Linked DNA regions of Homo sapiens: regions 2 and 3 are each linked to region 1. The links are contacts of gene promoters, found by promoter capture Hi-C in human tissues and cell types (Jung and others, 2019). All regions are on one chromosome and are shown on one strand. Each heading gives the region's core, a stretch centred on a gene start or on the middle of the fragment in contact. The rest is flanking DNA. Distances are from core to core; before and after follow the strand shown. Region 1 holds the start of PKN3 (protein kinase N3). Region 2 overlaps SLC27A4 (solute carrier family 27 member 4). Region 3 overlaps MIGA2 (mitoguardin 2).

Region 1 (4,387 bases), core at 638-3,137:
TTTAACCTCCATTTTATTTTATTTTTATTTATTTATTTTTCTTGAGACAGAATCTTGCTCTGTTGCCCAGGCTGGAGTGTAGTGGCGTGATCTTAGCTCGCTGCAACCTCTGCCTCCCAGATTCAGGTGATTTGCCTGCCTCAGCCTCCCGAGTAGCTGGGACTACAGGCGTGCGCTACCACGCCCAGCTAGTTTTTCTAATTTTTTATTTTATGTATTTTTTTGAGATGCAGTTTTGCTCTTGTCATCTAGGCTGGAGTGTAGTGGCGAGATTGGCTTACTGCAACCTCCACTTCCCAGGTTCAAGTGATTCTCCAGCCTCAGCCTCCCTAGTAGCTGGGATTACAGGCACCCACCACCATGCCCAGCTAATATTTTTTTTTTGTAGTTTTAGTAGAGACGGGGTTTCACCATGTTGGCCAGGCTGGTCTCGAACTCCTGACCTTGTGATCCGCCTGCCTCGGCCTCCCAAAGTGCTAGGATTACAGGCGTGAGCCACCGCGCCCAGCTGCCTTTTTAATTTTTTTTTAGCAGAGACGGGATTTCACCATGTTGGCCAGGCTGGTCTTGAACTCCTGACCTTAAGTGATCTGCCCTCCTCAGCCTCCCAAAGTGCTGGGATTACAGGCATGAGCCACCATGCCCAGCCAACCCCCATGTCAAAGAACCTACTATGTGCCAGGTGCTTCTGCTAATGTCTAGACCTCAACAACTCTAATGTGTAAATGTCACATTTCGCCTCTGATTATGAAATCTGGGCATGTTTCACAGAGCCAAGTTGCCTTTGCTTATATGTCAATGCCACTTGGGTGATTTCCCATAGCAGGACAACCCAGTGTTGTCCATGGCTCACCAATTTCACTTTTTTCCAGTCCATTATGAAGGAAGTGATTAGTGCAAAGCACAACATGTGGCTTCCTTCATTCAGTAAGAGCACCAGAGCCTGTCTGTTCCAAGTCACTGTCGGTATTTGACCCTTCATCACCTTCCCACCTCCTGGAGGACGCTCCTCCACGAAGTGCTGACACAACCTCCTGTAAACGCAGGATGCCAGGACGGGCTGAATGGCCCGCCATAGACTAGGCAGTGACCAGCACACCTCCCTTGGGCTGAAATAGTGGCGGCTATTTCACCAGGTGTAAATGGCTTTTCTCCCGTGTGGATGGATGGGCTTTTTAGGGTAAAGCCCTAAAAAGTGGCACGGGCTGAACCAGCAAGCTCAGTCTGAGTAAGAGATGGGCCGGAGAGAGGTCTGGTTCATTCATCTGTAATTTGTAATTTATCATAATTTTGGGTGAGGATTTACTTTTCCACAAGTATACGTTCTTTTTTTTTTTTTTTTTTTTTTTTTGAGATGGAGTCTCGCTCTGTCACCCAGGTTGGAGGGCAGTGGCAGGATCTCGGCTCACTGCAACCTCCGCCTACTGGGTACAAGTGATTCTCCCACCTCAGCCTCCTGAGTAGCTGGGATTACAGGCGCCCGCCACCACGACCGGCTAATTTTTGTATTTTTAGTAGAGACGGGGGTTTCACCATGTTGGCCAGGCTGGTCTCGAACTCCTGACCTCGTGATCCGTCCACCTCTGCCTCCCAAACTGCTGGGATTACAGGCGTGAGCCACCGCACCTGGCCTAGTATACATTCTTGTAGTGACTAATATCTAGTCTGGGCCAACCACTCCGAGGAGAGAGACAATTTTGGATTAGCCCACATTACACCAACAACGTGCGAGACAAAGAGAGACTTGAGGGGCTTGGTCGAGGAGGCCCAGCGCGTTAGAGGCGGGAGCCAGGTTGTAGAGGGGCTCAAAGTTAGAGGAGGCGGCCAGCTCCACCGGCTGCACCCGGCTGGGCGACCCGGCAACCTTCAGGGGGCGCTGTTTCCCCCATCCCTGTCCCTAACTGGCCGGCTCCCGCGGGCGCGCGGCGGGGAAGGCCAGAGGACCTGGGCGCGGGCGATGTGCCTCCTGAGCGTCCAAACCGGGGGTGAGGCGCGGTCACGCCCAGCGGGAACCGCAGGCGCCGAAGCCCGGGTACTGGGCCCAGAATCCCGCGGAATTTTGGATCCGAGGGAGGCGCTGGGGCGCGGGACCTCGGGCGTGGGGTCCCGGGCGCTGGATCGGCGCGGACGGGAGGCGGCGCTGGTCCCGCGGGCCAGCGGGTCTCGGGAGGGGGCGCCCGATCCCGCGTCTCCGGCGCCGCTTCCCGGGAAGTTTCAAGTTTGAAAGTCCTGGCGGAGGGTCTGCGGCTTCCGGGACCGGAGTGGCTGAGAGAAGGGCCCCAAGCGGCCGGAGCGGCGCCATGGAGGAGGGGGCGCCGCGGCAGGTGAACGGCGTGGGAGGGGCGCGCGGGCCCGGGGGGTGCGAGAAAGCCTCTGTCATCGCCCCGGAGCCCCGAACCGCGGCCGCTTCCCCCGATCCTCCCCTCACCCGCGCCCCTTCCCTGCCCCTGCCCTGGCCCCGGCCCCGCGACGCCCTCGCAGAGCAGACCTGATCTCCGGGTTCGGTGGTTCCTGGACCTTGCACAGTCTCCAAATCAGTCCGCGGCTGACCCGGAGACTGAACCCCAACCAGCCCGTGAGCGAGGACGGCTGAGTCCGCAGTGTGCGCCACCAGGGTGGTCCCCAGAGTGTCCTTAAGTCGGTTCTCCTCGGTGGGGCTCCAAGGCCGACGGGAATTAGCCGGGATAGAAAGGCGGGGCACAGGGGCCTGGGGGGGTTAGAATGTGCGCGCAGCGGGGGGCGCAGTCTGTGCGCGCTTGGCAGTGGCAGGAGTCCTTCCCGGAGCACAGGAGGCACGAGGGGAGCGTAGATGAGAGGGGAGCGGCCTCCCCCGCCCCAGGGCGGGAACCTTTGGGTACATAGCGGGTTCTAGAATGCGGAGGGGGCTGGGTTTCCTGCCAGAGCTGGCAGTAGGTGCGCGTGGGCCCGGAGGACCGAGGCCATGTCTATCTGCTCCTGAGGAGGGAGAGGTGGTGTCCTGTTCCGGAGCGAGTGGTTGGGAGGGGGGCATTTGCGGACAGGAGTGGGTCCCCGCAAAGAGCGGAAAGGAGGTGGTGTGTGTGTCCATGTTGGAGTTCCAACCCAGGGCAGACGGGACCATGGGGGTGTTGCGGGGTGCGTGTAGACTCCTTGAGCGCCCAAGCCAGTCGTTTAGGCCGCCTTCAGGGCTGGGGCTCGGTCTGCCCCCTCCCACCCCCTTCCTCTGGAGGTCCCTCCGCCTGTTCCAGACGTAGCTTGTACACATTTTCCGATTTCCTGCGGGGCTCCGCCCTGCAGCGGCAGCTGGGTGACTCAGGACCCCGGTGGCCGGGCCCCCAGCTCCATGGGACCTTTGTTTGCTCCGGTCTTTGGCTCTGGCCCTGTGGCCTAGGGCGGTCAGAGGATTTCCTGAGCCTCGCCCTTGCCCTCTGACAGCTGGGCCAGCAGGCCCCGCTGAGGTCTGGGGTGGGGGGGTCCCTGAGTCTGGGGTTGCGGCCCCTTCCACTGGGCTCAGGAGAAGATGGAACACAGAGAGGTAAGATGGGGTTCCTGCAACAGCCCGTGTTGCGGGGCATCATGGGTTACCCGGCCTGAGGTCACCTTTGGCACCGGTTGGTTTGAAATGCTGGCGGCTGGAAAGGAGGTGTTCCTGTTCCTGGCTCCAACCTGGGTGAAGCCGTGAGAGAGCCTTCTACTTCCTCCCGGGAGCTGAGCAGGGAGTGGGCACCCGGAGACCTCCCCAGTTCCTCTCTGTGCCTCTGCTTTGCTACCTGTGGCATTGGGACATCAGGGGAACAAGCCCTGGCTCCCAGGCCCCTGGCTGCCTTCTCATGTGGCTTCGTGTGAACCCCTATTCGGCGTAGCTTTTGTGGCTCCTGGACTCTACTTTGGGTCCCAGATGTAGAGAGAGCAGCCTGATTACCCAGGGCTGCCAGGGACAGCTGGGGCCCGAGAGATGGTGGCCCCTCCTCTGTGTCTTGACTGTGGGCAAGTTACTTCACCTCTCTGGGCCTCAGTTTCCTCACTAGAAAATAGGGGTAATAGTACAGGCGTGGTGGCTCACACCTGTAATCCCAGCACTTTGGGAGGCCAAGGCAGGTGGATCACCTGAGGTCAGGATTCAAGACCAGCCTGACGAACATGGAGAAACCCCGTCCCTACTAAAAATACAAAATTAGCCGGGCTTAGTGGCGTGTGCCTGTAATCCCAGCTACTCAGGAGGCTGGGGCAGGAGAATCGCTTGAACCCGGGAGGCAGAGGTTGTGGTGAACCGAGATCGTGCCATGGCACTCCAGCCTGGGCAACAAGAGCAAAACTGTCTCAAAAAAAAAAAAAAGAAAAAGAAAAAGAAAAAAGAAAATGGGGGTAATGACCACCGCTACCGGGTGGGGTGGCTGGGAGGAGTGAT
Region 2 (4,387 bases), core at 1,090-3,589, 360 kb before region 1:
AGAGGTTGGATCAAGTTTAAATGACTATGCTGCCCCTTTCACATCAAAGAACTACTGACAACGAAGGCTGCGCCTGCCTCTCCCATCTGTCTATCTGGCTGGCAGGGAAGGAAAGAACTTGCTTGTTGGTGAAGGAAGAAGTGGGGTGGGACGACAGTGAAATCTAGAGTAAAACCAGGCTGGCCCAAGGTGTCCTGCAGGCTGTAATGCAGTTTAATCAGAGTGCCATTTTTTTTTTTGTTCAAATGATTTTAATTATTGGAATGCACAGTTTTTTTAATATGCAAATAAAAAGTTTAAAAACTTAAAAAAAAAAAGAACACGTCTCACTACACCCATTGCACAGAGGGCAGATACTAAGGTCTAAAATGTGAAAAGGTCTTGCCCAAGGTCACTTGGAGAATGGTGGGCAGAGATGGGACTATGAGACGAGAACCAGCCTCCTGCTTCTCACTCTTGGAATTCCTCACCTCAAGTGCCAAGCCCCTAGCCTGCCCCTTCCAGGCCAAGCCTGGAAAGGGACCCCTGTGGTCAGTCACCCAACTCAGTATGGCTAAGCCTTACCACAGGCTGTCCCCTTGGGATCACAGTGGCCTGGCTGTCTGGGCTGGGAGGTAGGAGACCTGGAGGGTTGGGTGTTTGGGTCCACTAACTGCCCTGTGTCCGCAGGCCACAATGCTGCTTGGAGCCTCTCTGGTGGGGGTGCTGCTGTTCTCCAAGCTGGTGCTGAAACTGCCCTGGACCCAGGTGGGATTCTCCCTGTTGTTCCTCTACTTGGGATCTGGCGGCTGGCGCTTCATCCGGGTCTTCATCAAGACCATCAGGCGCGATATCTTGTGAGTACCTGGCCCAGCCTTTCCTGGGGTCTGCCACACTACAGTGAGCTTCTGGTCCCCCAAATCTCCCCAGGCCAGACCTCATGTTCTCTACCAGCACAGGGCAGCTGAGCTGAGTTCCAGAACAGCAGCCTCTGCTCCACACCCGTACCCTGGCAATAGTACCTGGTCCCTCCATCTCCAAGGTCAAAGTCTTCTCCCAGGGAATCTCCCTAACTTGAGGCTCCCAGGCCTTGGGCAGGCTTGGCCTAGGACGTACATTGAACACCAAGTGTGTTGAGACATCTGCAAGGGGTCCTGAGGACTCTGTAAGTTTATGAAAGGGTAAAGAGGAATTTTGGGGAAAGGCCCTGCCCTCAGGTTGGCAGGGGTGTGAGATGGCACAGGGGGCACTGAGTTCTAGAGCAGAGCCCCTACTCAGATGTCTGGGATAACCTGCTCCCCAAAGAAAGCCCGGTATGCTCCAAGGGACATCCTGTACCAGAAATATCTATTCCCGCTTGTTCTCTACTAGGTGCCAGGCTAGCTTTGGGGTCCAGAGAGGAATAAGGCAGACCCCATCTGCCAAGCTCAGATTGGTCAGGAGAAAGAAAGGGACACAGCACATCTGTAAATTGGCAGTGCCATGTGGGCAGAGACCCTGGCACAGCCTTGCTCACTACTGTGTCCCAGCACCCAGTTCAGTGACCCACACCCCACACAGGCAGCTCAGCATTTGTCAATCTTGGTTGATTGCAAAAGAAGGCACGGAGTGGCACACCAGGAAGGGTGGTAGCTGTGGGAGCATGGAGCAAGGAGAAACAGCTGCCAGCCAGGACCCTGGGAATCAGAGAAGGCCTCCTGGAGAAAAAGCGGCTGTACTTGAGAGGCGCCTTAGTGGTGGTGGAAGGAGATGAATCCAACCAGAAGGCACAGCATCAGCAACAAAGGCATGGAGTCCAGGGCTGGGCGCAGTGGCTCACACCTGTGATCCTAGCACTTTGGGAGGCCGAAGTGGGTGGATCACTTGACCTCAGGAGTTTGAGACTAACCTGGGCAACATGGCAAAACCCCGTCCCTACCAAAATACAAAAAAGTTAGCCAGGCATGGTGGTGCACACCTGTGGTTCCAGCTACTTGGGAGGCTGAGGTGGGAGCATCATTTGAGCCTGGGAAGTGGAGGTTGCAATGAGCTGACATTGCATCACTGCACTCCAACCTGGGTGACAGAGTGTGACGCCATCTCAAAAAAAAAAACAAAAAAACAAAGGTGGCAGGAATGGGATGTTGCCAAGTGATTCCACAAACTTATTGAACATCTACTCTGCCTGGCACAGGACCCAGGGGATAGAGTGTTGAATAAGACAGAAGCCTATCCCAGCTAGGCTCACAGGGAGGAAGACTGGACAGACCAGCAAACTCATTCATTATTTACTGTGGTCATGGTGGGTCGAGGGAGCAGCTGGACTGTGGGAGGCCCCAAACAAGGAGTTTGGACTTTTACAGGAAGCTCTGGAGACCTAGGAGGTTTCTGCTGGAGCAGCAGGCTGAGAGGGTAGGAGTAGAACTCTGGAGCCAGAGAGGCCTAGAGTTCAAATCTCAGCTCAGCCACCCTCCATCCATGAAGCTTTGAGCAGGCCACGGCACCACGAGAGCCTTGATTTCCTTCTGTGTAAGGGGAGGGGAATCATACGAACTCTCAGTGTTATTGAGAGGCATCAGTAAGGCAGTGCATGTTCCCAGCAGGAGCCAGGAGATAGAAGTGTTGTAGGGGGTCTGGCTCATGAAGCATAGGCTGGCGAGGCAGCAGCCTGGGGTAGGGTGTCAGGACCCCTCCCTCCCAACCATGGCAGACACAGCGCCCTCTCTTGTTCACACACAGTGGCGGCCTGGTCCTCCTGAAGGTGAAGGCAAAGGTGCGACAGTGCCTGCAGGAGCGGCGGACAGTGCCCATTTTGTTTGCCTCTACCGTTCGGCGCCACCCCGACAAGACGGCCCTGATCTTCGAGGGCACAGATACCCACTGGACCTTCCGCCAGCTGGATGAGTACTCAAGCAGTGTAGCCAACTTCCTGCAGGCCCGGGGCCTGGCCTCGGGCGATGTGGCTGCCATCTTCATGGAGAACCGCAATGAGTTCGTGGGCCTATGGCTGGGCATGGCCAAGCTCGGTGTGGAGGCAGCCCTCATCAACACCAACCTGCGGCGGGATGCTCTGCTCCACTGCCTCACCACCTCGCGCGCACGGGCCCTTGTCTTTGGCAGCGAAATGGCCTCAGGTGAGCCCCAAGGGGGCGGGGGACAAGCAGGAACCCCATGGGATCTTACACAGACCACAGCTCCCTTCCAGCCCTGCCAAGGCTGTGTGGGTCAGTGGTTAAGGGCACAGAGTGGAGTCAGACAGCTTAGGCAGTGCCACGAGTAAACGAGATCCTGGGGAAGGGACTGATTTCTCTGAGCCTCAGTTTCCTCATCCGTCGTTCCTACCTCATACTGTTTTCAAAAAGGTACTTCAGACTGGGCATAGTGGCTCACAGCTGTAATCCCAGCATGTTGGGAGGCCAAGGCAGGAGGATCCCTTGAGCCCAGGAGTTTGAGACCAGCCTAGGCAACATAGTAAGACCCTGTCTCTACTAAGAAATTTTTTTGAGACAGGGTCTTGCCCTGTCACCCAGGCTGGAGTGCAGTGGTGCAGTCACAGCTCACTGCAGCCTTGACCTCTCAGGCTCAAGCAGTCCCTCCACCTCAGCCTCCTGAATAGCTGGGACCACAGACATGCACCACCATGCCTGGCTAAATTTCACATTTTTTGTAGATACTCAGTTTTGCCATGTTGCCCAGGCTGGTCTCAGACTCTTGAGTTCAAGCGATCCACCTACCTCTGCCTCTCAAAGTGCTGGGATTATAGGCATGAACCACCACACCTGGCCTACTAAAAAAAGTTTTTTGTTTTTTTTTGTTTTTTTTGTTGTTGTTGTTTTGAGATAGAGTCTTGCTCTGTCGCCCAGGCTGGAGTGCAGTGGCGTGATCTCGGCTCACTGCAACCTCCACCTCCCGGGTTCAAGCAATTCTCCTGCCTCAGCCTCCTGAGTAGCTGAGATTACAGGCACCCGCCACCACGCCCAGCTAATTTTTTTGTATTTTTAGTAGAGACGAGGTTTCACCATGTTGGTCAGGCTGGTCTCCAATCCCTGACCTCGTGATCCACCCGCCTCGGCCTCCCAAAGTGCTGGGATTATAGGCATGAGCCACCACGCCCGGCCTAAAAAAAGTTTTTAAAAAATTAGCTAGGCTTGGTGACATGGACCTGTAGTCCCAGCTACTCAGAGGCTGAGGCAGGAGGATCACTTAAGACTAAGAGGTTGAGGCTGCAGTGAGTGATGATTGTGCCACTTCACTCTAGCCTGGCAGACAGAGTGAGACCCTGTCTCAAAAAAAACAAAATAAAAGGCCGGGTGTGGTGGCTCATGCCTGTAAATCCCAGCACTTTAGGAGGTCGAGGTGGGCAGCTTTGAGATCAGGAGTTTGAGACCAGCCTGGCCAACATGGTGAAACCCCGTCTCTAATAAAAATG
Region 3 (4,387 bases), core at 572-3,071, 340 kb after region 1:
CTTTGTGGGAGGTAAAAAGATGCAATGATTCTCAGTCTGGGGTCTAAGATTTTTGCTTAGCAAATGGTCCATGGGTTGAAAAAGGTAGAGAAAATGTGGCTTAAAGCCCTAAGTCTGAGAGTGACCTGTCCACCTCCCAGGTTCTGGGTCCTCTCCTGGGCTGGCTGGCCAGAGATGTTTCCGCTCGCAGGGCCCCTGGTAGGCAGAGGGTCTGTGGGTGTGGGGCTGCCTGCTGGCGGGCAGATGCAGAGGCCTGGGGCCTGATTCCAGGCCTGGGGTTCCAGAGGCAAGCTTTGCTCCTGCCTCCTCCCCCATGGACGCTCTTCTTGAGTGCATTTCTGCATGTTCCCGTGTGCACGTTCTCTTATCTGACTTGGTCATCTGTCTCTTAGCTCTGTGGAGGGGCCCTCTGGTATGTGTGTCCCTGTCCTTCTGGGGCGTGGATGGTGCCTGGGACCCAGCTGGCAACCAGTTGAAGACGTTCTCCTTGGAAGCTCTTGGCCCTGAGGACTTTGCCTGGGGCATTGGCCCTGCCATGGCGTTCCGGAGGGCCGAGGGCACGTCTATGATCCAGGCCCTGGCCATGACGGTGGCCGAGATCCCCGTGTTCCTGTACACGACGTTTGGGCAGGTAAGGATCAGGGTGGGTTGTACCTCTGGTCTATGAAACACTTCCATGCTCAGCCAAGGGCTCCTCCGTGTCCAGGAACGCTGAGCCCTCGTTCTTGCTTTGCCAAACCTCTGGTGTCTCCTCTTTGGACTGGGTTTGTTGTCTGAGGCTTCAGGCCTGTTCTTTAGCCTGAGACTATACGAACTCTTTTTTTTTTAATTAATTAAAAAAATTGTATTGGCCGGGTGCGATGGCTCACGCCTGTAATCCCAGCACTTTGGGAGGCCGGGACGGGCGGATCACCTGAGGTCAGGAGTTCAAGACCAGCCTGGCCAACATGGTGAAACCCTGTCTCTACTAAAAATACAAAAATTAGGCGGGTAGGCTGGGCACAGTGGCTCATGCCTGTAATCCCAGCACTCTGGGAAGCTGAAGCAGGTGGATCACCTGAAGTCAGGAGTTCAAGACCAGCCTGACCAATATGGTGAAACGCTATCTCTACCAAAAGTACAAAAATTAGCCAAGCATGGTGGTGTGCACCTGTAGTCCCAGCTACTTGGGAGGCTGAGACAGAATTGCTTGAACCCAGGAGGCGGAGGTTGCAATGAGCTGAGATCATGCCACTACACTCCAGCCTGGGCGACAGAGCGAGACTCCGCCTCAAAAAAAAAAAAATTAGCTGGGCATGGTGGCAGGTGCCTGTAATCCCAGCTACTTGGGAGGCTGAGGCGGGAGGATCACTTGAACCCAGGAAGCGGAGGTTGCAGTGAGTCGAGATCGCACCACTGCACTCCAGCCTGGGCAACAGGGTAAGACTCCGTCTCAAAAAAAAAAAAGTTTTTCGTAATAGAAATAGGGCCTTGCCATTTTGCCCAGGCTGGTCTTGAACTCTTGGGCTCAAGCCATCCACCTACCTTGGCCTCCTAAAGTGCTGGGTTTATAGGCATGAGCCACTGCACCTGGTCCTATATGAACTCTTGACCTCAGTTACTCAGTCTGTAAAAGGGGTCAGTGCCCTCCCTGACAACTCACATGTTTGTGGCTGACTGGGATCTTGACCGAAGATCTGCCTTGTGGGGTACAGTCCCATCTGAGGGGCTCCCAGGCCTGGGGGGCAGAGGGTGAGGTGCAGCAGTAGGAATTGTTCAGATGGGGTGGCAGGTGAGTGAGTGTCATCATCTTTGAGGCATCACTGAGAAATGGGGGTCAGCAGATCTGGGTTTCATGTCTGCCTCTGTCACCTTGAGTATATGTCTTCATGTGGGTGAACCTCAGGTTCCTCGTCTGGAAATGACAGGGACTCAGATGGGTACCCCAGGCTAGGTCCTAGTGCAGTGCCGGGCACAGCTGGTGCTTGTTCACTGCGGCTTGTGTGCTCATGACTGAGGGTGCTGGCCCCTAGACCTCACCTTCTCGGCACTGGCATCTTGCCATCTTTATGTTTTTGTGGCCTGTGTTTCAGGGAGGCTGGTCAACTTCCCCGTCTAGGGTGGCTGCCTCTCAGTCTCTCATCTGGTCGGCAGATGTGCCGGAGAGCCGGTGTGTGTCCCGTCCCTGAGGTGCTCTGGGGCGGTCCTGCTGCCTTGGACCTTCCCCAGGGAGGTGTAACCGGCAGCGTCTCCTCTTCCCTGCAGTCTGCATTCTCCCAGCTACGGTTGACGCCAGGCCTGCGGAAAGTCCTCTTTGCCACGGCCCTGGGGACTGTGGCCCTGGCCCTGGCTGCCCACCAGCTGAAGAGGCGACGGAGGAGGAAGAAGCAGGTTGGTCCCGAGATGGGAGGGGAGCAGCTGGGCACGGTGCCCCTCCCTATCCTCTTGGCCAGGAAGGTCCCTTCAGTGAAGAAAGGTAGGTGTGAGGTGGTGGGCATAGGCCTGACCTGAGGTCACATCCTGGGGTCATATCCCAGCTGGGTCACTCTCTACTTGGGGATATTGGGCCAGTGTCTTCCTGTCTCAGAGCCAAGGTCTCCTGATCTGTGAGCGGGATGACAGTAGCGTCCCTCCCTCCAGTCACTGTACTGGAGGGTGATGTGGTTGGATGCGCATGCTCCATTGGTGGAGGTGGTTTTGGTTGTTCTCATTAGCTGAGGACCCTTTGGGAGCACCTTGGTCAGAGGGGGTCGGGGATGTGGCTCCTGGGTCCAGAGAGGGATGTTCCCCAGGCTGAGGAGCAGGAAGAGCCATGTGGTTCTTGAATGATGCAGTATTCCTCCCATTCCCTTCTCTCTTAAAAATTGAGGTTTAGGCCGGGCGCGGTGGCTCACGCCTGTAATCCCAGCTCCTTGGGAAGCCGAGGCGGGCAGATCACAAGGTTAGGAGATCGAGGCCATCCTGAATAACACGGTGAAACCCCGTCTCTACTAAAAATACAAAAAATTAGCCGGGCATGGTGACGGGCACCTGTAATCCCAGCTACTCAGGAGGCTGAGGCAGGAGAATGGCGTGAACCCAGGAGGCGGAGCTTGCAGTGAGCCGAGATTGCGCCACTGCACTCCAGCCTGGGTGACAGAGCGAGACTCCGTCTCAAAAAAAAAAAAAATTTGAGGGTTAATTTGCATGCAGTAAGATTCGTACTTTTTAGCATACTATTCTGTGTCTTTGACACATAGAGTCATCCGACCACCACCATAGTTAGGAATCATTCAGCTGGTTGGAAGGTAGTGAGTTCACTCAGTCGATTGCTCACAGTCACAGATCACACTCCTTCTGTTCTCTCTTTTTTTTTTTTTTTTTTTTGAGATGGAGTCTTGCTCTGTCACCCAGTCTGCAGGGCAGTGGCACAATCTCGGTTCATTGCAGCCTCGGCCTCTTAGGTTCAAGAGATTCTCCTGCTTCAGCCTCTCGAAAAGCTGGGACTACAGGCACGTGCCACCATGCCTGGCTAATTTTTGTATTTTTAGTAGAGACGGGATTTCGCCACGTTGGCCAGGCTGCTCTCGAACTCCTGAGCTCAAGTGATCCGCCCACCTCAGCCTCCCAAAATCCTGGGATTACAGGTGTGAGCCACCGCACCCGGCCCCGGCCATCTTTCTACTCTTTTTTTTTTTTGAGACGGAGTCTCACTCTCTGTCACCCGGGCTGGAGTGCTGTGGCATGATCTTGGCTCACTGCAACCTCTGCATCCCGGGTTCAAGCGATTCTTCTGCCTCAGCCTCCGGAGTAGCTGGGACAACAGGTGCGTGCCACCAAGCCCGGCTAATTTTTTGTATTTTTAGTAGAGACAGGGTTTCACTGTATTAGCCAGGATGGCCTTGATCTCCTGAACTCGTGATCCGCCTGCCTCGGCCTCCCAAAGTGCTGGGATTACAGGCATGAGCCAACCTGCCCGGCTTTTTTTTTTTTGAGACAGAGTTTCGCTTGTGTTTCCCAGGCTGGAGTGCGGTGGTCTGGTCTCTGCTCACTGTAGCCTCTGCCTTCCGGTTTCAAGCAATTCTCCTGCCTGAGCCTCCCGAGTAGCTGGGATTACAGGTGCATGAAACCACGCCCGGCTAATTTTTGTATTTTGAGTAGAGTTGGGGTTTCACCATGTTAGCCAGGCTGGTCTCGAACTCCTGACCTCGTGATCCACCCGCCTTGGCCTCCCAAAGTGCTGGGAGCCAGGCATGAGCCACCGTGCCTGGCCCCTTCTTCTACTCTTTTTCCCAGCTTCTCACTACTACACTTAACTAGTCTTAAAAAAAAAAAAGAACTGTTCTATCGTTGTATCACTCTCTAAATGCCCTGTGTCCTTCTGTGTCAGCTCTGGTAGCCACTGCTCTATTTTGTGGCTGCTGCTGTG

What was found. The method cuts DNA at HindIII sites, captures the fragments that hold promoters and counts their contacts. A contact is called where the count stands out against the background at its distance.
Region 2: a fragment that was not itself captured here is called in contact with the fragment with the promoter of PKN3 in region 1 in 1 of the 25 tissues and cell types used here (dorsolateral prefrontal cortex).
Region 3: a contact is called between a fragment that was not itself captured here and the fragment with the promoter of PKN3 in region 1, in 1 of the 25 tissues and cell types used here (aorta).

What each region holds. Positions count from the first base shown.
Region 1 is chr9:128,700,616-128,705,002 of GRCh38, forward strand. PKN3 (protein kinase N3) reads left to right here and starts at 1,888. Exons shown (of 22, transcript NM_013355.5): 1 at 1,888-2,324. The coding sequence starts at 2,301. RefSeq lists a silencer at 1,781-2,350 and an enhancer at 2,165-2,704. The HindIII fragment of the contact is 13,608 bases long and covers 1-4,387 here.
Region 2 is chr9:128,342,458-128,346,844 of GRCh38, forward strand. It overlaps SLC27A4 (solute carrier family 27 member 4), which reads left to right. Exons shown (of 13, transcript NM_005094.4): 2 at 670-836; 3 at 2,698-3,092. The coding sequence starts at 676. It also overlaps the pseudogene TMSB4XP4. Among named protein-coding and RNA genes, the nearest start is that of SLC27A4, 4.1 kb to the left of the region's middle. The HindIII fragment of the contact is 5,235 bases long and covers 1-4,387 here.
Region 3 is chr9:129,040,060-129,044,446 of GRCh38, forward strand. It overlaps MIGA2 (mitoguardin 2), which reads left to right. Exons shown (of 16, transcript NM_001329990.2): 2 at 393-631; 3 at 2,245-2,455. The coding sequence starts at 536. Among named protein-coding and RNA genes, the nearest start is that of MIGA2, 5.6 kb to the left of the region's middle. The HindIII fragment of the contact is 5,202 bases long and covers 1-4,387 here.